2 separate regions of the Homo sapiens genome follow, and region 1 is linked to region 2. Evidence: promoter capture Hi-C in 16 types of primary human blood cells and fetal thymus (Javierre and others, 2016). All regions are on one chromosome and are shown on one strand. The core of a region is centred on a gene start or on the middle of the fragment in contact, and the rest is flanking DNA. Distances in the headings are between cores, read along the strand shown.

Region 1 (2,811 bases), core at 312-2,811, 1.6 Mb after region 2:
ATGAGTGTTGTGCCTCTACTATCAAGCAATATTGTTTAAGAGGAGCTGTTATATCTAAAAATCCTTGAGTAAAACAAAGACTGGCCAATTCTGTGAAATGCTATTACCAAACCCCTGCCCCCTGAATGTTTCCAGTCTATGTGGTATTACTTGGAACCCACTTGGGAAAAGTTCCATTCCATAAATCCTGGCAGAGGCAGGAAGAGAAGAGACAGAGTTTGAACTTGCAGAAACTGCTTGTCGGGGTCCAAATGGAAAATCAGATATCAAATTGGTTGTTACAAACCTATTCACAGACTCAGGGGAAGCAATTTAACAACAAGTGGCATAGAGTTGGAGGCTTAGGAGAGAAAGCAAATTATCCCAAATTGTTCATCTGCTGCAACACCATTATCTTCCTCTTTAAACTTTGTTATTTTAGCCAATAGTGTCATCATTTTCTAATTCCTTTTTTTTTTTTTTGGGACAGAGTCTAGCTCTGTCGCCAGGTTGGAGTACAGTGGCGCAATCTCCACTCACTGCAACCTCTGCCTTCCGGGTTCAACAGATTCTCCTGCCTCAGCCTCCTGAGTAGTTGGGACTACAGGTGTGCACCACCACGCCCAGCTAATTTTTGTATTTTTAGTAGAGACGGGGTTTCACCATGTTGGCCAGGATGGTCTCGATCTCTTGACCTTGTGATCCACCCACCTCAGTCTCCCAAAGTGCTGGGATTACAGGCGTGATTCACCACACCTGGCCAGTGTCATTTTCTACTGATGCAGGTTGGAAGCCTCATGCTGTTCCACCTGCCCCGGAAGCTTTCCCTAATTTCACAGCCCTGTCTCACCCATCCTCATGGATCCAGTTCAAGAACCATCTCATCCATGAAGCCCATCAGCCCTTGGAGATCTTGTTCATAACCTCCACATTGTCAATGCCCAGCAGTGTCCTAAAAACAGCAAGTTCTCAAAACTATAGGCATTAGTTACTAAAAACAGGCTGCTGTGTGGGAATCCGCACATAGGCAGCAGGCTCCCTTAATTCAGGGACTAGAGAGCCACCTGGTCTTCCTCCCCACACAACACAGCCTTGCCTGGGTCCCCGGGTTTATATTTTCTAGCACCAGATCCTCCTCTTCCAACAGGGGTGATACCCAAATGAGTGGAGGTCCAAAGCATAGGACTAGAATGAAACAAACCCAGCTCTTCTGTGAGGTGTAGGCCTGTGAGAAGATCAGTATTGGTGGCCAACCCCTGATTCCTAAGGGTGCCTACTGAGTCATCTGGGCCAGATCAGCCCCTAGGCCCAGCACTGTTCAGTAATACCAGCATGCTACTACCTTCTGTACCATACCTCAGGCCCTGACTGCAAAGCAGGCTGAAACTGTAAGCCTTCTTTTGGGGTCCTCCCAGAAAAGCATGCTTCCCTGGGCACAGAGATACAGATTCCAGGAGATCCTGTTCCTCTCTTCTCACTGGCATGATCCTCTGAGGCAGAAGGTTGAGAACAAAGGAACAGGACAGCCACAACAAGCTAAGGTCTGGGCAGAGAAGAAATCCAAACTTGTTGAGCAAAAGAAATCAAGAACAAGCAAATACCAGAAGGGAACAGCCAAAAGTTTTTCAAAGTTATGGAGAACAGCAAGGAAAATGGTCCAAGAGTCCAGCAAAGAGTAATGAGGAGGGCCATGGCACATAGGGAGGAGTGGTGAAGACTGAAAAATACGTGAGCAGCCAAAGAAGGTGCCTAACAGTGAGGCAGCATCCTAGTTCTGGTTCAGCTAACTCACATTCCTCTCACCATGGGGTGAACCAATTCTCAGCTACCCTGGGGGGAAGGCTTGTTGAAGATGACGCCTGCAGAAGCTGACTGGCAGAGTAGTGGACTCTGGGATGGGATACCGGCAGGGGCATTTCCCCACCAGCTTCACCCTGGAGATAACTCCATGTTTCAGAACCTGTTACCTTTTTCCTCAAACATGAGCTATTTTTCCTAGTTTCCTTTGAAAGATCGGACCGAAAGTCAAGTTTTCGTGGTTTAGGCTCACCCTTCAAAACACCCGAAATAACTTTTGCAGAAATCTTCCTCATGTTCAAGTTTTCTTTCAAAATGAGCCTAACAGTTTCTTTGTCTAAATTTAACTCTTCAGCCATCATCCTCACGGTTAACTGCCTGTTTGAACAAACCAAGTCCTTGACCTTCTGGATATTGTCATCTGTTCGGTGGGTGACTGGACGCCCACTTCGGGCATCATCTCGAACATCTTCCCGTCCTTCTTTAAACCTTTTGTGCCAGTCAAAAACTCTGGCCCTTGACATGACTTCATCCCCATAAGCTTCTTTTAAAAGATGGTGGGTCTCACTTGCAGACTTGTTCAATTTCACGCAAAATTTGATACTAATCCTTTGTTCTAAATAGCGGTCACTCATTCTGGCACTGAACAACACAGGAACGTTTAACAGGCCACGACTGTAAGGGAAAGACGGACAGATCAATCTTTATAGGGCTGCAGGTGTAATCATATCGCTCTTCTTGCTCTTCTAGAAGCCTCGCCGGGAAAGAGTAATTGCTTTTATGAATTTTTGTCCCTCAGCTTCCAGTCGAGGCTGGGGAGATCCGTTCTGGGAAGCCAACAGTCGCTGCAAAGCTGGGAAAAATTAAATCGCCTACAACCACGTCTGCATCAAACCAGTGCACGCACATCTGCCGAGAGTTTGCCAGTCACCAAGGTCGCTCCGATTCCGCGGCCCTTAAGGAGTATATGGCGAATTCTGCAAGAAAGGCCTAAGTGGTGGCAAATTAAGCAAGCAAGAAGAGATGCATCGGTGA
Region 2 (2,700 bases), core at 196-2,695:
CTGGGATTATAGGCGTGAGCCACCACTCCCAGTTTCCTCTAATTTTAGGAAAGCCTTCCCTGAGGCACTCTGAAGAAATTAGGTCTGTTTGAACCACATTCATTCCCGTTACCCAGCACATTTCAGTTGCACTGTCACCATCAGTTTGGGTGTCTGTCTTCTCAGATTGTAGGACCTTGAGGATAAATACTATCTTTTGTTTATTTTTGGGTCCTCTGTATCCACCTCAGCCTCCTGCTTTTTTTTTTTTAAACTATCCCACATTAATTCTTTTTTTTTTTTTTTGATAACGGAGTCTCGCTCAGTCGCCCAGGCTGGAGTGCAGTGGCGCGATCTCGGCTCACTGCAACCTCCGCTTCCCATGTTCAAGTGATTCTTCTGCCTCAACCTCCCAAGAAACTGGGATTACAGGCGTGTGCCACCATGCCCCGACTAATTTTTGTATTTTTAGTAGAGACGGGGTTTCCCCATGTTGGCCAGGCTGGTCTCGAACTCCTGACCTCAAGTGATCCATCCGCCTCGGCCTGCCAAAGTATTGGGATTACAGGCATGAGCCACCGCGCCTGGCCCACATTCTTTTGAAAGACCAAAATAATGAACAGCTAGTTTCATGTAGGTTGTAAAACTTGACCTTGGATTTACTGACACTAACATGTGCACTACACCTTACAGTCCGTAAAATGTTCCTGCATTATTTCACTCCATTGTCACATCTTTGTCAGGTTAGTTATTATAAATGCATTTGTAGTTGAGCCATTTGCTCAAGAACCAGAGCTGTAGTCTGTAGCTTTGTTGCTTTATCCTTGGTCTCAGAAGTCTTCTACTGTACTATAGCTATCAGAGCAGGGATTGATGCCTTAAAGGATGGCAGCTTTTGCAAAACTGGAATAAGGAAGTATGGAAAGGCACCCCAAAACAAGAGAGGTGGCGCACAGCTTGAACAAAGGCAGTGCTCAGGAAACCTACAAACAGCATCGTGTACAGCAAAGGATGATGGGAAAGTCAGCCGAGCCTCTGAGTTTTTTCACGAGTCGTAAACCCCTTACAGAGCTCCGGGTTTTGCCTCTAGCTCTGGAGCACCCCGCCTCTGCCCTTTAACCTGTACTTCCTCCCTCCCTCCCTTCGCGCCGCGCCGCGCTAGTCTCTTAGCCACTCCGAGGCCACCAACCAGCCTCCCAAAGCTCCCATTGGGTTGCCCACCCTTTCAGTCTCAGCTCCTCCCGCCAGAGGCCCCGCCTCCCACAAGCGAAGCTCTTATTTCCGTTCTTCCGGCGTAGGCCGCCAAATCAGTCCGTACAGTGGCGAGGCAGTCGAGCAACAGGAAGCGGTCGCTCTTTCCCCAAATCCCACTGCCTTGTGGGATCTCGGCAAGTCATCCACCCACCCCCCGCGCCTACGCAAGTTTTCCGGATCCGTCCACCCCCGCCTCCCTCCTAGTGTACGGAAGCTGAGAGGGCCCGCGGGTAGGCATGGCGGCGCACCTTAAGAAGCGGGTTTATGAGGAATTCACGAAAGTGGTTCAGGTAAGCTCTGGCGGGAAAGATCCAGAACCGATCCGGACCAGGGTAGATTATCCAAATCCCAGGCACTTTGCCGGAACAGAAGAGGCTCCATACGCCCGTGTTAAGTGCTGACTTGTTGATAATCTCTGATATTGCAAGTTAGTGGGCGTGTTAGTTTGCAGCCGCTGTTGTCATTAATATGTGAAGTCTGACAGGATTTTAAAAAAATTATTAGGAGAAACAGTGTTTTTTAATTTACGAAACTGTCTTATCCGTTATTTCATTTTATTCTCTCACACAACTTTGCTCCATCGCGTTACATTAGCATCCTCGTTTTCCAGATGTGGACATTGAGCCTTCCGGAGGGGTACGAGGATACAGCCAGTTAGCAGCAGAGCCCCTTCTAGCCTCCCCGCACCCCCGTTCCAAAAAAAAACCTCCCAGGGACCAGTTGGAATATACACAAGGTTCTAAGGGGCTGAAAGAAGGGTCTATAGAATTCCTTCAGGCGCAGTCTAAGCAGGCGGGGGTCACAGACTTCATAGGGGAAGAGCTCTCTATTGGTAGAACAGCTCACCTAGGAAGGAGGGCAGTACCTTCCTCACCATGAAGTTGTGACAGGTGGGCAGAGTCCCTGTCGGGAGTCAGTGATGCTCCATGTGTCTCCACGTAGATGTTGCTAGGGTTGATCCTAAATCATCCTGATGTCCTATTTCTCAGATATTAATGTGTATACAAATTACCTGGGGACGTTGTTCAAATGTCGATTCTATTTGATAAGTCAAGCAGAGGAGGTGAGGCAAGATTCTGCATTCCTGACATGCCCCCAAATTTACACCAGTGCATTGGTTGCATTCTTAGATCCTTAGACTTGTAGAGTGGCAAGGCTTAGAGCATCCAGCAGGATACTGATCCTTAAACATTACATGGATTCATTCATCCAGCATTAAAATATGTTAATACAAATACAAAATATGTCAATACATAATATAAAATTTACAATTTTAACAATTTTAAGTATAAAGTTCAGTGGCATTAAGAACATTAGCACTGTTGCACAATGTGATTTCCTCTCTTCCCAACATTCTGTTGTTCCCATTTCCCAAGACTGCTCAGCCCTCTTCCACCCATCCTCACATGACCAGATATGCCATGTGTTCTTGTGTTTGCATATCTCAAAACTCTTGCACTGGTTGTC

Evidence for each region. Contacts are between HindIII fragments. The CHiCAGO score rates a contact against its expected background, and 5 or more counts as called.
Region 1: a fragment that was not itself captured here is called in contact with the fragment with the promoter of INTS4 in region 2 in 1 of 17 cell types (non-activated CD4 T cells); the score reaches 5.0 in non-activated CD4 T cells.

The regions. Positions count from the first base shown.
Region 1 is chr11:76,381,429-76,384,239 of GRCh38, reverse strand. It overlaps GVQW3 (GVQW motif containing 3), which reads right to left. Exons shown (of 2, transcript NM_001347885.2): 1 at 1,947-2,811. The coding sequence starts at 2,411. Among named protein-coding and RNA genes, the nearest start is that of GVQW3, 1.5 kb to the right of the region's middle. The HindIII fragment of the contact is 1,517 bases long and covers 803-2,319 here.
Region 2 is chr11:77,993,413-77,996,112 of GRCh38, reverse strand. It overlaps INTS4 (integrator complex subunit 4), which reads left to right and starts at 1,445. Exons shown (of 23, transcript NM_033547.4): 1 at 1,445-1,523. The coding sequence starts at 1,470. RefSeq lists a silencer at 1,061-1,130 and an enhancer at 1,331-1,530. The HindIII fragment of the contact is 5,814 bases long and covers 1-2,700 here.